3 separate regions of the Homo sapiens genome follow, and all the other regions are linked to region 2. The links are contacts of gene promoters, found by promoter capture Hi-C in human tissues and cell types (Jung and others, 2019). All regions are on one chromosome and are shown on one strand. Each heading gives the region's core, a stretch centred on a gene start or on the middle of the fragment in contact. The rest is flanking DNA. Distances are from core to core; before and after follow the strand shown. Region 1 overlaps KLHL22 (kelch like family member 22). Region 2 holds the start of SCARF2 (scavenger receptor class F member 2). Region 3 overlaps KLHL22 (kelch like family member 22).

Region 1 (4,471 bases), core at 1,934-4,433, 51 kb after region 2:
ATTGCTTGAACCCGGAGGCAGAGGTTGCAGTGAGCCGAGATCACACCACTGCACTCCAGCCTGGGTGACAGAGTGAGATTCCGTCTCAAAAAAAAAAAAAAAAAAAGAAATTTATGTTCTTTGTAAAATAATTCAGACAATGCAGTAAACAGAAGAAATTCAGCCTCCCTCTCCCTTTGCCCTTTGCTGAGTCCCCACGGTGCAGCAAGATCCTTCCAGATCTTCATGGTTGGGATCATCTTCCACCAGGTCCTGAGGTTTTTCACTCCCTATCAGTAGACACACCACACTGCCCAGTTTGCAAGTAGCTCCATTGGATAACACAGAAAGGCTCTGTCCTGCACCATGTCTCAGCACTGGGTGCATCGTCCCACAGGAATGACACCTAGACACCCAACATACAACTGCAGGGCCCTAAACTATGGGCCAGCCCACCCCTAAATGCCCTTCTCTCTACCCTTGCCCATATCAAATATTACAAGCCTCTCACACATATTTACCAGTCATACTGGGAAAAAAATAGTCCTTTATCATTTTAACATTTCACAAGTAACTAAAACAAATAATAAACATGCTAACACTTGGGAATGGTCTATTTCTTTTCTTTTTTTTTTTTTTTGAGACGGAGTTTCATTCTTGTTGCCCAGGCTGGAATGCAGTGGCGCAATCTCGGCTCACTGCAACCTCCGCCTCCCGGGTTCAAGCAATTCTCCTGCTTCAGCCTCCTGAGTAGCTGGGATTACAGGCATGTGCTACCACGCCCAGCTAATTTTGTATTTTTAGTAGAGACAGGGTATTGCCATGTGGGTCAGGCTGGTCTCCAACTCCTGACCTCAAGTTATCCGCCCTCCTTGGCCTCCCGAAGTGCTGGAATTATAGGAGTGAGCCACCAAGCCTGGCCTCTTTCTAGGCTCACTGCAACCTCCGCCTCCTGGGTTCAAGTGATTCTCCTGCCTCAGCCTCCCAAGTAACTGGGATTACAGGCATGTGCCACCACGCCCCGCTAGTTTTTGTATTTTTAGCAGAGACGGAGTTTCACTATGTTGGCCAGGCTGGTCTCGAACTACTAATCTCAGGTGATCCACCCGCCTCGGCCTCCCAAAGTTCTAGGATTACAGGCGTGAGCCACTACATCCAGCCTCTTTTTTGTTTTTTTGAAACAGGGTCTTGCTCTGTCACCCAGGCTGGAATGCAGTGGCACAATCTCGGCTCACTGCAACCTCCGCATCCTGTGTTCAAGCAACTCTCCTGCCTCAGCCTCCCAAGTAGCTGGGATTACAGGCGCCCACCACTACACCCAGCTAATTTTTTTTTTTTTTTTTAGTAGAGACAGGGTTTCACCATGTTGGCCAGGCTAGTCTCAAACTCCTGGCCTCAAGTGATCCACCTGCCTTGGCCTCCCAAAGTGCTGGGATTACAGGTGTGAGCCACCGTGACTGGCCTCTATTTCTTATTTATACATACACACACACACCCCCCTGTGAAATGACTCTGGGCTCTTCCAATAATGTTGCCACTCTCCCGCTCCCCTTCCCAATGGAAGTGGAGGGATGCAGGGGGTGTTAGTGATGCATTGTAATCATCCCGGAGAGCAGGACACCTCTCATAAGAGGTTTACCCAAGGGGGGCTGTGGAAAGGGCTAGAAATTGCTCCTGGAGGACGTGGAAAGCCACATAAGGTTTTTGACAGATTAGCGAAAGGCTGCCTACACTGTCATCTTCAGAAAGAGTGGTATGACACTAAATCAAGAAGGGCTGAGAGGGTGAGCCCAGGGGATCCCATAGGCTCCACAGCCTCTGGCCATCCTCTCCTATACAGGTCCTAAGTCCCCTGCAGGGGGCCCTCAGCTCCTCTACCCTACCCACTGTCCTGTATGTTATCTTAATGCTTATTAAAGGCCTCAGCTGAATTTCCCTGGTGAACTGAAAGAATTCTGCTGCTCCTGGACACATCTGCACCAAGCCACCACTGGGTCACATTCTCCAAAACTCCTTTTGGAGACAGAAGGCACTTAAACCATACATATTTTGCTTGATAGTTCCTAATTAAAAAAATAGAGAGAGATAAAGAGAAAGAGAGAGAGAGAGAACTACAACTAAGCCTTGAAGACAAAATGATTGAACAGAATCAGAGCTAGAATGGAACACCTCAGGCTTGGAGTCCCATGACAACCTTGCTGGGGACCACGAGTGGCCCTCAGTCCTTCTCAGGCTCATGCCACCTATGTGAAATAAGGGTGGTGACACCCACCTCCTTGAGTGCAGAGCAGTGCAGACAACAGGGCAAATGGTGTATTGATCTGCTATCTGTGTACATAAATTTATTCATTTAAGCCATGGGTATTGTTTGAATATGTGAAAACCATGTCAGGTGCTAGGGATAAGAGACAGATTCCAACCCAGTGGAAAAGACAGATAAGCCAGTGGTTCCTCACACTGTGCCAAGTGCTGGGATGGGGTCACGAAGGAGGCCATAAGAAACCCCAGAGGGGCCACAGAGCTCACTGGGAGGGCCAGAGGCTAACACCTGAGGGATGAGAGGTGTGAGCCAGAAGGTGATGCATACACAGCAATAATTACTGACGGAGGGGAGGAATGGTAAGGGAGGGGAGGAGAGAAAGGAGGAAAGAAAAGAGAAAAGAAAAGAGAGAGAAAAGGAAAAGAAAAGGAAGAGAAGAGAGGGAAGAGAAGAGGAGGCAAAGCCCAAGAAACAGGATCACTGAATGAAAAATGAACTCTAAGACCCCCTTCTGTCTCTCACACTTGTTGACTAAGTCATAGCCACAAGGAGTAGGGGAGGCTCTGAGGTGAGCAGGAGACCAGCCACTGTCACCGCCAGTACCTTTACTAGCAGAGCCAGGATTACCTTTGTTATTCTTCTTACAAACAGCTCTAGTGAACTCACCTGAAGTAATCGCAGGACGCAGCCAGCAGGATGCGATGGGCCTCGATGTGTCTGCCCTCCACCACCAGCACAACATCGAAGAGGATTCCGCTGTCCCGGAGAGCCAGCAGCCCTCGGAGCAGAGCCTGGGAGTGCTGTGCGCTGCGGTAGGTGTTGTTCACGCAGTGTGGGTGTGAGGGCTGTGCAGGCAACTTGCAGAGCTGGGTGAACTCCTGCTCCTCTGCCATCCTGACAGCCACAAGATCCCTTACAACTGTGGCCTGACAGTTGGCAAAACAGGGGACAGGGGTGAGCAGGCAGGCATCAGCCCCACCACACACAGACTGGCCAGCTCTGTTGCTCCCCTTGCTCCTGTGCCTCCCTCAGGCTCACCTGTTTTCCCTCTATTTCCAAATCCCCTAATTCCTTCTCCCCTCCCACCTCTAGTCCAACTTCCTGATGGCCTTCTTCCTGATGACCTGTGTGCCATCATGCCCAAGACTCTTCATCTCATTGTATCTTCTTCAGCGGCAAAGTCAAACAGAAGGGTTTTGGGAAACAGACTGACCTGGGTTGGAGCCCAACTCCACAGGGACTTACAACATGACCAAACTGAGCCTCGAGCTCCCCAATTTTAAAAAGAGAGATAAAAGTACCTACCCCATTGGGGTATTCTAAAATTGGTAAAACAATGAACATGAAGCATAAGCACACACCAGGTTCTCAAGAGCTCTTCCTCCCTCCCATTGAATGAACAAAATTGGGTTCTTCCTCATAGTAATGGATGCATAAAAATGGCAAGACCTGAGTAGTGGTCAGGAGACACACAGCCAGGAGTCTGGGAGGTGGGTGCCAAGGGGGTGGCATTTCCAGGGCCTACTTTCCTTTACTGAAATTCTGAGAGTCAAGCACAGTAACTGTGATTGAACCTGATGCATTTAAATTCATCTGCATTGCCTTTTAAATTAAAGATTATCTTCTAATAATTGAGTCAGTACGTTCAAAAACCGCAAACTGATTTGAATTGGAGCCTCTAAAACCTAATCAGTAAAATGAACCTACTGCAAATGCACTTTTGCCATGGAGCAACCAAAAGTGACTGTGGATAGCCAGCTGTTCAGGTCAGGGAGTGGCCAGTCCCACACTGTGAGGCATGGCCAAGCTGCAGGCTCTGTAGGCACAGCACAGTCAGCTACAAGATGTGAACATCTGTCTTCTCCACCTCACTTCATCCTACTTTCCTCTCCCCAAAATATGTTTATTCTCCAATTACCTCCAGTCATGCATCACTTAATGTTGGGGATACATTCTGAGACTTATATCGCTGGAGGCAATTTCCTCAGTGTGTGAACATCAAAGGGTACACCTACACAAACCTAGGTGGTAGAGACTACTACACATCTAGGCCATAAGGTACAGCCAATTGCTCCTAAGCTACATACTTGTACAGCATGTTACTGTAGTTCTGAATGAAAAAAACACACTGTTTTTCCTCTCCTCTTATACCACAACAACAAACACAGGAGACTTCTGTGACCAAATGTGTGAGGGTTTTTCCCCATTAACAAGCAAGCAATCAATTCTGCC
Region 2 (4,295 bases), core at 1,552-4,051:
GGCTCTCCCCATCAATGCTAGACTTGCAAATCCAACTGCCCAATAGATGATGTCACCAGAAGGAGACCTCATGGGCCTCATGCCCAACCAGCCCAAACCTGAACTCTTGACCTCCTTGCACCCTGAGTCTTCCCTGCCTCAGATAACCCTGCCTGTCCTTTCAGGCTGGGAAGCTGAGACCTGGAGAAGCATCTCTGACTCTTCTTTCTTGTCTACACCAGATCCATTGAGAAAAAAGACGCTGAGCTCTAGCTTCTAAACGATATCTAAAATGGGATCACTTCCTCCTTCCCTATCCCAGCCTTGTGAGAGCCACCCTCCATCTCCCTGGCTTTTTGTAACTGGCCCCAGCTTCCACCCCCTGCCCCCCAGGGTGCGAAGTGTTTGCCACCTGGCAGCCAATCCTGGTCAGATCCCACCCTTTCTCTGTACAAAGCCCCCAGGGGGTCCCATGGCCCTCAGAAGAAAAGCCCAAGTCTTCTGAGCAGTGGCAGCCCACGGTGGCCTGCCCACCCTCACTCTCTGGCAGCTCCTCCGCCAGCCCCTCCTGGACTCTGCCCAGCCTCCTGGATCCTTCCTGTACTTCCACAGGCCCTCTGCCTTGGGAACCTTGCCCCAGACACCCACAGGGCCTCCGTGCTCTTCTGCAGGCCTGTGCTCACTCACCACCTTCTCAGCCGTTCTCCTCAGAACACCCTAAAGGAAACAGCACTCCCCAACCCAACACCTCCCAGCTCTTGCTAGATGTCTAGACACACTTGCTTTTCTGGACTGTGTCTCCTCTGCCACAGGGTCAGGGTCTCCACTGCAGCTTCCCTACACCAATACAGGCCTGGCACAGTGTAGGTGCATAGGATTTTACTGGCTTTGCACTCTCCTCTCCCCATCCTCCTGCCTCCCAGGAAAGGGAAGGGCTGATGGAAGCCTTGCAAGATGTGGGAGGACAACAAAGACATGACCCAGACCCCAGGTGGGCAGTGCCCAGAGTGGCTGTCCTTCCCATCGACCCTTGCCACTCATGACCACAGCGATCTCCACTTAGCCCCATGAGGGGGTTGTGATCACTATCCCATTTTACAGAGGTGGAGACAGGCCCAGAGAGGTCAAATGACTTGCCCAGGTCCACACAGCTGGGTAGGGTGGCACCAGGATGGGAACCCAAACCCAGGCTCGGTTCCTGGAGCAGGCGCCTCCTGGGAGGTCTGCAGACCAGGGGAGCGGGAGCAAAGGGCTCTCAGGCTCCGGACAGCTAGAGCCTGGCACCGGACCCCCATTCCTGGTCCCGGGCCTGTCTGGGAAAGAGGGCTGGAGTGAGTAGACAGAGACCACGGCGATCGCGCCCTCCCCCTCTCCAGGCACCGCCCCGCCCGCCGCCGCCGCTGCATTCCTGGGGCCGGGGAGGCCCGGGAGTCCGCGGCGGCGGCATCGATGCGAAGCAGATGGCGGGCCAGGCCGGCCCCCGCCCCGGAGGCGGGGCTCGCAGCGGGGAGGGGTCTGCGCGCCTCCGGACCAGAGTTCGGAAACCCCGCGCTGCCCCCTCGCAGCCCCTTGTCTCTGGCGCCGAGCCCCTGGACTCGGCTTGCCCCGGGTCCGTGGCTCAGGCGCCCCGACGCGACCCAGCTCGGAGCCCGGCGGCCGCCTCTGCGGCTGCCAGCCCGTGCGGCGTCTCCAATCCGCGCCAAGGCGCCCCCACACGCCCGCTCCTCACCCCTGCGTGGAGATGCCCTTGACCTTGTGGCCTTTGGCCAGCCCACCGGCTCCCCCGACCCCAGCTCCTAACTCCTGGCGTCCGGGGCTCACCTCTCTGCCCTCCGTGCAAACTCCCGGACTCGCCCCCCCACCGGCCGGGCCTGTCGCCTGCCTGTCCCACACTGGCTTCCCCAGCCGGCGCCCCACATTTGCGCGGCCCCTTCTTGCACCCAGAATCCCCACCTGGTTGTCGCCAGGGTTCCCACATCCTCCGGTCCCCTGTGCCTGTCATAGTCCTTCCGCCTCCCGCTTCTGGTCCACTTCGAGCGCCGGCTCCTCGACGCTCGCCTGGGTCACCACCCTCCCACCCGCGCCCGCTCTAAGACGCGAATCTGTCTTTCCAAGTCTGGCTTGCTCCAGGACCTCCCCGGCTAGCACCGCTCCTCCTCCCCTGACCTTCCTCCTCACTCCCACTCCCGGCTCCAGTCGGACTAGTGCGGGGCTTTAGCACATGCAGTTCCTTTGGCTTGAATGCCCTTCCCCAGCTTTTCCCCGTGGACTTCACAACTCGGTCAAGGGTCCCTTTTTCCAGGTCTTTCCTGATATCCCGGACAACGCGTGTCATCCCCTGGGTGCCCACGGCACTCCATCCTCCCCTCAGGTGACTTCTCGTCCAGGGTTCCCTGGGATGCACTGTCGTGGCCCATGGCCGAGGCTGGGCCTGGAACGGAGCCGCGCTGGCTAGGGAGCCGAAGGGGCCCACACTTGGCGTAGGAAGGTTCCGGTAGCCCCCTCCCAATGCCCGGCGCCGCCACACCACTGCCCAGAGCGTCCCTCTCGCCCCCTCCCCCAGCCAGGCCGGCTCCTACCCGGGAGCACGGCACACGTTGCGGCCGCGAGGGTTCAGTTCCTGAGGCGCCACGGTGTCCGGCAGCATCCAGAGCAGCAGCAGCAGCAGCAGCGACGGCAGCAGCGGTGACGGCGGCCCCCCGGCTCCCCGGCGCCGCGCCGGCCCGGCCCCCCGGGGCCCTGCGCCCTCCATGAGGCGCGGGGCAGGCGCGGGGCGGGCACGGGCGCGGGTGCGGCCGCAGCGAGAGCGGCCGGAAGCGGAGTGCGAGGCCGGGCGGGGGGCGGCAGGAGGGGCGCCGAGCCGGGCAGGAAATTCCACATCGGCTCCCTGATCCCGGGCCAGCCGCGGCCGGCCAGGCGGCAGCGCCCGCCCCGCGCTCCAGACCCCACCCTCCGGCCTAGCCACCGCCCCTCCGCGCAGCCCCCGCCCCCATTTGGCCGCTCGCAAACTTGGGGGCGAACTTGGAGGAGGCCCGCCGAGCGCTGGTGGAGGGAGGGTCCGCCCGAGGAATCCCCGGTTCCCGCGCCTTTCCCTCCGCTCCCTAGACATCTACCGAAGCAGCCGCCCCTGCGCGCCCACTGCGTAGGCCAGGCCCGGGACGGGAAGGCGGATCGGGGACACGGACGCGACTCCGCAAGCCCACCCCCGCTCCCAGCGCCTCGGAACCGGCCAAGGGAGTGGGGCCCGCAGACAGCCCAGGTCGAGGCCGAAAGCCAACTCCACAGCACCCCACCGCGAAGTCCTTGTAGTGCTGGGGTGTGCGGTCAGCTCCCCCTGCGCACTCCTGCGCACTCAGAGCTCGCAAGGGGCGGACCGAGCAGGATGCTTGAGGCCTGTGGTAGACTCGGTCCGGACCAGAGGCCTGGGGGAAGGGGTCTCCGTAGGGACGGATGGGAGAGATACAGAGGAAGTAGAATGGCCAGGCTGTGGACTGCGGTAGGAAGTAGAGGTAAAGACAGAAGGAGACCCCCGGGATGGAAACCCTGCAGTCCTAGTTGAGGAGTGAAGGGGGCTGGGGGAGCCTGGGCGGTGGATTCTGCTGGCTGTCGGATTTCCAGGAGAGGCTGGGGCTAGAGAGTGGGAACTCCTGCATCAGGTAAGGTGGGTAACAGCACAGAGCAGAAGGAAGGTGTGGGAAGGGAGCAAGACAGAGGGACAGGCCCTAGGGAGCCAGCGGGGAAGCTGGACTTGGACTGGGAGGCAGCAGGGTGCGGGTCCCCGGGGGGCAACTGGGGCAGACCGACTCTGGAAGTTGGGCAGGGAGCACAAATGTCCCGTGTGTAGCCAGGTCCTAGTGAGGATGTTTGTCTTTTGGGGACTTGAGAGCTGGCAGAAGGCCTAAGCAGGGAGCGGGCACCTCCGTTCTTTGGGGAGCAGGCCACATGCGGCCCACAGGCTCACTGAGGGAGGGCAGGCAGACTCTGTCCAGGTGTGGCCAGATAGCCCCGAAGGGTGGGGCTGGAGGAGGGGGCTTGGAGGAGGAGCCACTGAAAGGCCCAAGGCCATGGGCATCACCAGGCTGGCACAGGCAGAGAGTGGGATGGGGAGGAGCAGGCCCCTCACTCAGCCATGCTGGTGCAGGAGGGAGGTGGGGTGGGCTGAAAGAGAAGTGGAACTAGTGTGGACACGAATGCAACTACCTGGGGACAAATAAACAGGCCAACCACTTCTGGGCAGCTCAGCCTGGGCACAGCCCTGACCTCAGCAATGCCCTCCCAGTGCTGGGGCCCCTCCCACGGAGGATCCGGATTGCGGC
Region 3 (4,410 bases), core at 1,137-3,636, 33 kb after region 2:
GTCATGGGCCAGGGTCCTGAAGACCAAGTTTTGGGCAGAATGTGAGCACAAACAGCCCTGAAGAAGCCTGGGCAGCAGCAGCTCCTTGAGAGGACCCTGCTGACTCTCCTTTCAGTCCTATTTTTAGAGCAGTGGGCCTTCTGTTCAGTGAAATCTCACAGAGGAACCAGCCTGGGCTCAGGATGTGCAAAAGCCCCATACGAGGCTCACAGAAGGGACTGCATTTGCTTGGGGTAACCCAATAGGACAGTGTTACTGGGAATCAGACTCAGGCCTCTGGGGACACCGTGAAGAATCTGGTCCCAGGCCTACTGCAGGGCACAACACATGGGGGAAGCCTCCAAAAGTCACTAGCTATGTGAACATACATGATTCTACAGGCCTATGGACTTGACATGGTTATGCCAAGTAAAACCTGCTATAAAACAATATTGTGAAGAAGCCTGTTTTTTTTTGTTTGTTTGTTTTTTGTTTTGAGATAAGCTGGCATGTAGTGGTGTGGTGATCACAGCTTACTGAAGCCTCCACCTCCTGGGCTCAAGTGATTCTCCCACCTCAGCCTCCCGAGTAGCTGGAACTACAGGTGCATGCCACCATGCCCGGCTATTTTTAAAGTGCTTCTGTAGAGGTCTCGCTTTGTTGCCCAGGCTGATCTCAAACTCCTGGCCTCAAGCAATCCTCTCACCTTGGCCTCCAAAAGTGCTGGGATTACAGGCATGAACCTCCAAGCCTGGCCCAGAAGCCTGATATGTTAAAAAACTAAGATAGGCTGCTGCCTCTGAGATGACCTCTGAGGCACTGGGGGAGATGACCCAGGGCTGTCGGGAGCACTGGCCAAACCAACAGAGAGAGACTGCAGGCCTCCAAGCTGACTGGTGAGAGAGGGAAAGTGATGTTAGAAAGATGATCTGGTTTCAGTGTGTGTGATCACTGCAGGGAGAAGAAAGAAATGGCAGAAACATACAGATGGAGGCCAGGCAAAAGGGAAGGAAATGGAAACACAGAACAGAGATGGCTACAAGCAATACCGAGAAGGATGACCTGTCCTCACATGGACGCAGGGAATTAAGAAGGTGGACGGGCTCAAGGAGCCACTGAGGTTGAGCCCAGGGAACTGGCAGGATGGTCACAGGACACACAGAGCAGGGGGACTGACAGGGGAGCTCCGGGAGAGTGGCAGGTGTGGAGGAGGAGATAGGACAGCTGGACCTGAGCCATGCTGGGGGAGATGTTTCAGAGGCAGCTGAATCAGGAGTTAACTGCTGCCAGGGTGGAGAATTGGATGAGGGTTCCCAAAGCAACAATGACAGGGATGTGGGGACAGAAGAGATCTCTAAATAAAAGAACAGGGGGAAATTCTTTTGTTGTAAAAGCCAACTCCATCTACTCACCATGCAGGTATGGTGAGACAAGTCAGTCATCTCAGATCAACCCACCCAGCATCCAGGTCCTATCCACCAATCTGAGAACAGGGCACAGGGAGGCTGCCAGGGCCCTGTCACATGGGGTGGCACCTCCACATGCCCCCGAACAGGTTGGTTTTCCTGTGACTTGAGTTGTTTTTTTTTAATTGCGTCAAACCTGCTCTCATGGGAAGAAAGGTCAGAATGATGAACTTAGCATAGCATTTTGTTTCACTTTTAAGAAATGTGGGAAGAGGTGACTGTCAACTCCTATCAGGCCTCTGCCTGATAGCTCAAAGGCACCTGCAGGCCCAGTCCCGTGTAACTGCACCCACACCACTGAGAATAATCATCCAAAACATAAGTCACACTGTCAAAGCCTCAGAAAACTTTTTGAATTCTGCAGGAAAACAAGTACTTAAAGTTCAATAACAGGTTGGGTACAGAGGCTCACACCTGTAATCCCAGAACTTTGGGAAGCCAAGGTGGGAGTATCACCTGAGGCCAGGAGCTTGAGACCAGCCTGGGCAACATAACAAGGCCCCATTCCTATAAAAAAATATATATATATATAATATCAGCTAGGCACAATGGCACGCATCTTTAGTCCCAGCTACTCAGAAGGCTGAGGCGGGAGGACCACTTGAGCCTAGGAGGTGGAGGCTACAGTGAACTATGATCATGCCATTGCATTACAGCCTGGGTAACAGAGTGAGACCCTGTCTTTAAAAAAAAAAAAAAAATAGGCCAGGCGCAGTGGCTCACACCTGTAATCGCAACACTTTGGAAGGCTGAGGTGGATCACTTGAGGCCAGGGGTTCAAGACTAGCCTAAGCAACAAAGCAAGCCTCTATCTCTATAAAAATAATTTAAAAATTAGCCAGGTGTAGTGGCACATGCCTATAGGTCCTAGCTATTTGGGAGGCTGAGGCAGAAGGATTGCTGGAGCCCAGGAGGTTGAGGCTGCAGTGAGCTGTGATCGTGCCACTGCACTCCAGCCTGGGCAAGAGAGAGAGAGCTTGTCTCCAATAAATTGAATGAGTGGATGGATGGATGGGTGGATGGATGGATGGATGGATGGATGGATGGATGCATGCATGGATGGATGGATGGATGGATGGATGCCTGCCACCATGGATGGATGCATGCATGGATGGATGGATAGATGGATGGATGGATGGATGGATGGATGGATGGATGGATGGATGCATGCATGCATGGATGGATGGATGGATGCGTGCATGCATGGATGGATGGATGGATGGACAGACAAATAGATAGATAAAGTTCAGTAACAAAACACATAAGTTTTCAAGAGACTGAAGTGGCCCAGTGAGGGGACAGGCAGGAAGGGCCCTGGCAGCAATGCTGGTGGATGCTCCCCATTGCCAGACCCCAGAGCACACAGGACGTCCACATGCAGCCTCGGGTCAGCCTACCTGCTTATGTGCAGGATGCTTTCAATGACAGGGAGACTCAGACAGTGGGGAAACAACCAGCAATAGAGAAGAGGGCAAAGGCAGAGGCCTGGGGTGTCTAGAGCGGCTCTGCTTGAGCTCCAGGAACAACTCCAGAGTCTTCCCCACTTCATGGCCTTCGTCACTGCTTGGTCTCCTCACATTCCTGACCCATCTTCAAGCCAATGCTAGTGCCCGGCAGGCATCATGGGCATCTCAGGGAACCCCACCTGGGTGTGGGTCTGCCTTGCTAGATGAGACATGCCTCACCTGAAGCTGGCAGGCAGCCACCAGTGTCTCTTGTACATTGCTCAGGCTGAGCTCCAGCTCGGAGGTGTATATGAAATGTAGGATTTGGCACATAGCATTGTAGGACACACCGTGGATCAGGACCTCTTCCTGTTCCATCTCCTTCAATCCCCCAGCAAACATTCCTCTGCAAAGTGAAGACACAAGAAAATGGAGTTATACCAACAGGGACTTAAGCCCATGTTGCCAAGAGTGACAGCATTCAGAGAAGAACCTGGCGCTGGTGGCAGGGCCCTGGTAGTGGGCTGACCCACTCTGTGCTCTGAGTGAACTGTGTGCATGCATGAGCCATCCCACAAAAGGATCCTGACGAAGTCTGGGCAGCCATCCTGGAAATTGTCCTGTTTCCCTTTTCATGGGCCCAAGGAGTCCCATGTGAGCTTCGGGAGGTGAGGCCACAAGCAGCTTGCTTCTGCTGTGTTCATCAGTGCAGTTCCTGGATCGGAGCAGTAGCAACTCCAGAGCACATTTCAAAGCAATGAATTAATTAATGGGAAACTAATAAAAGTCATTTCATTCAATGTATATTTATGGAGTTCCTACCAAATGCCAAGTATCATTCAAAGAGCAGAAGGAGGCCAGGCACGGTGACTCACACCTGTAATCCCAGCACTTTGGGAGGCCAAGGCAGGCAAATCACTTCAGGTCAGGAATTCGAGACCAGCCTGGCCCACATGGTGAAACCGCGTCTCTACTAAAAATACAAATATTAGCCGGGCATGATGTTGTGCATCTGTAGTCCCAGCTACTTTGGTGGCTGCGGCACAAGAATTGATTGAACCTGGGAGACGGAGGGTGCCATGAGCCAAGATTGCACCACTGCACTCCAGCCTGGGCAACAAAGCAAGACTGTCTCAAAAAGCAAAACAAAACAAAAAACAAAGAGCAAAAGGAGTTATAGTGAAGTAAACTGGTAAAATAGCTGGGCGCGGTGGCTCACGCCTCTAATCCCAACCCTCTGGGAGGCCAAGGCAGGCAGATCCCTTGAGCCTAGGAGTTCAAGACCAGCCTAGGCAACACGGTGAAATCCTGTCTCTACAAAAATTACAAAAATTGGCCGGGCGTGGTGGCTCACGCCTATAATCTCAGCACTTTGGGAGGGCAAGGCGGGCAGATCACCTGAGGTCAGGAGTTCAAGACCAGCCTGGCCAACATGGTGAAACCCCGTCTCTACTAAAAATACAAAAATTAGCTGGGTGTGGTGGCGGGCGCCTATCATCCCAGCTACTCAGGAGGCTGAG

The links. The method cuts DNA at HindIII sites, captures the fragments that hold promoters and counts their contacts. A contact is called where the count stands out against the background at its distance.
Region 1: a fragment that was not itself captured here is called in contact with the fragment with the promoter of SCARF2 in region 2 in 6 of the 25 tissues and cell types used here (IMR-90 fibroblasts, dorsolateral prefrontal cortex, liver and 3 more).
Region 3: a fragment that was not itself captured here is called in contact with the fragment with the promoter of SCARF2 in region 2 in 4 of the 25 tissues and cell types used here (IMR-90 fibroblasts, dorsolateral prefrontal cortex, lymphoblastoid cells and 1 more).

The regions. Positions count from the first base shown.
Region 1 is chr22:20,486,080-20,490,550 of GRCh38, forward strand. KLHL22 (kelch like family member 22) reads right to left here. Exons shown (of 7, transcript NM_032775.4): 2 at 2,906-3,165. The coding sequence starts at 3,132. Among named protein-coding and RNA genes, the nearest start is that of KLHL22, 7.5 kb to the right of the region's middle. The HindIII fragment of the contact is 7,515 bases long and covers 1-4,471 here.
Region 2 is chr22:20,435,024-20,439,318 of GRCh38, forward strand. SCARF2 (scavenger receptor class F member 2) reads right to left here and starts at 2,802. Exons shown (of 11, transcript NM_182895.5): 1 at 2,559-2,802. The coding sequence starts at 2,731. LOC107985588 (a long non-coding RNA gene) reads left to right here and starts at 2,973. Exons shown (of 2, transcript XR_001755623.2): 1 at 2,973-3,488. The HindIII fragment of the contact is 17,878 bases long and covers 1-4,295 here.
Region 3 is chr22:20,468,220-20,472,629 of GRCh38, forward strand. It overlaps KLHL22 (kelch like family member 22), which reads right to left. Exons shown (of 7, transcript NM_032775.4): 3 at 3,131-3,296. All of the region lies in intron 1 of LOC124905085 (a long non-coding RNA gene), which reads left to right. Among named protein-coding and RNA genes, the nearest start is that of KLHL22, 25 kb to the right of the region's middle. The HindIII fragment of the contact is 6,492 bases long and covers 1-4,410 here.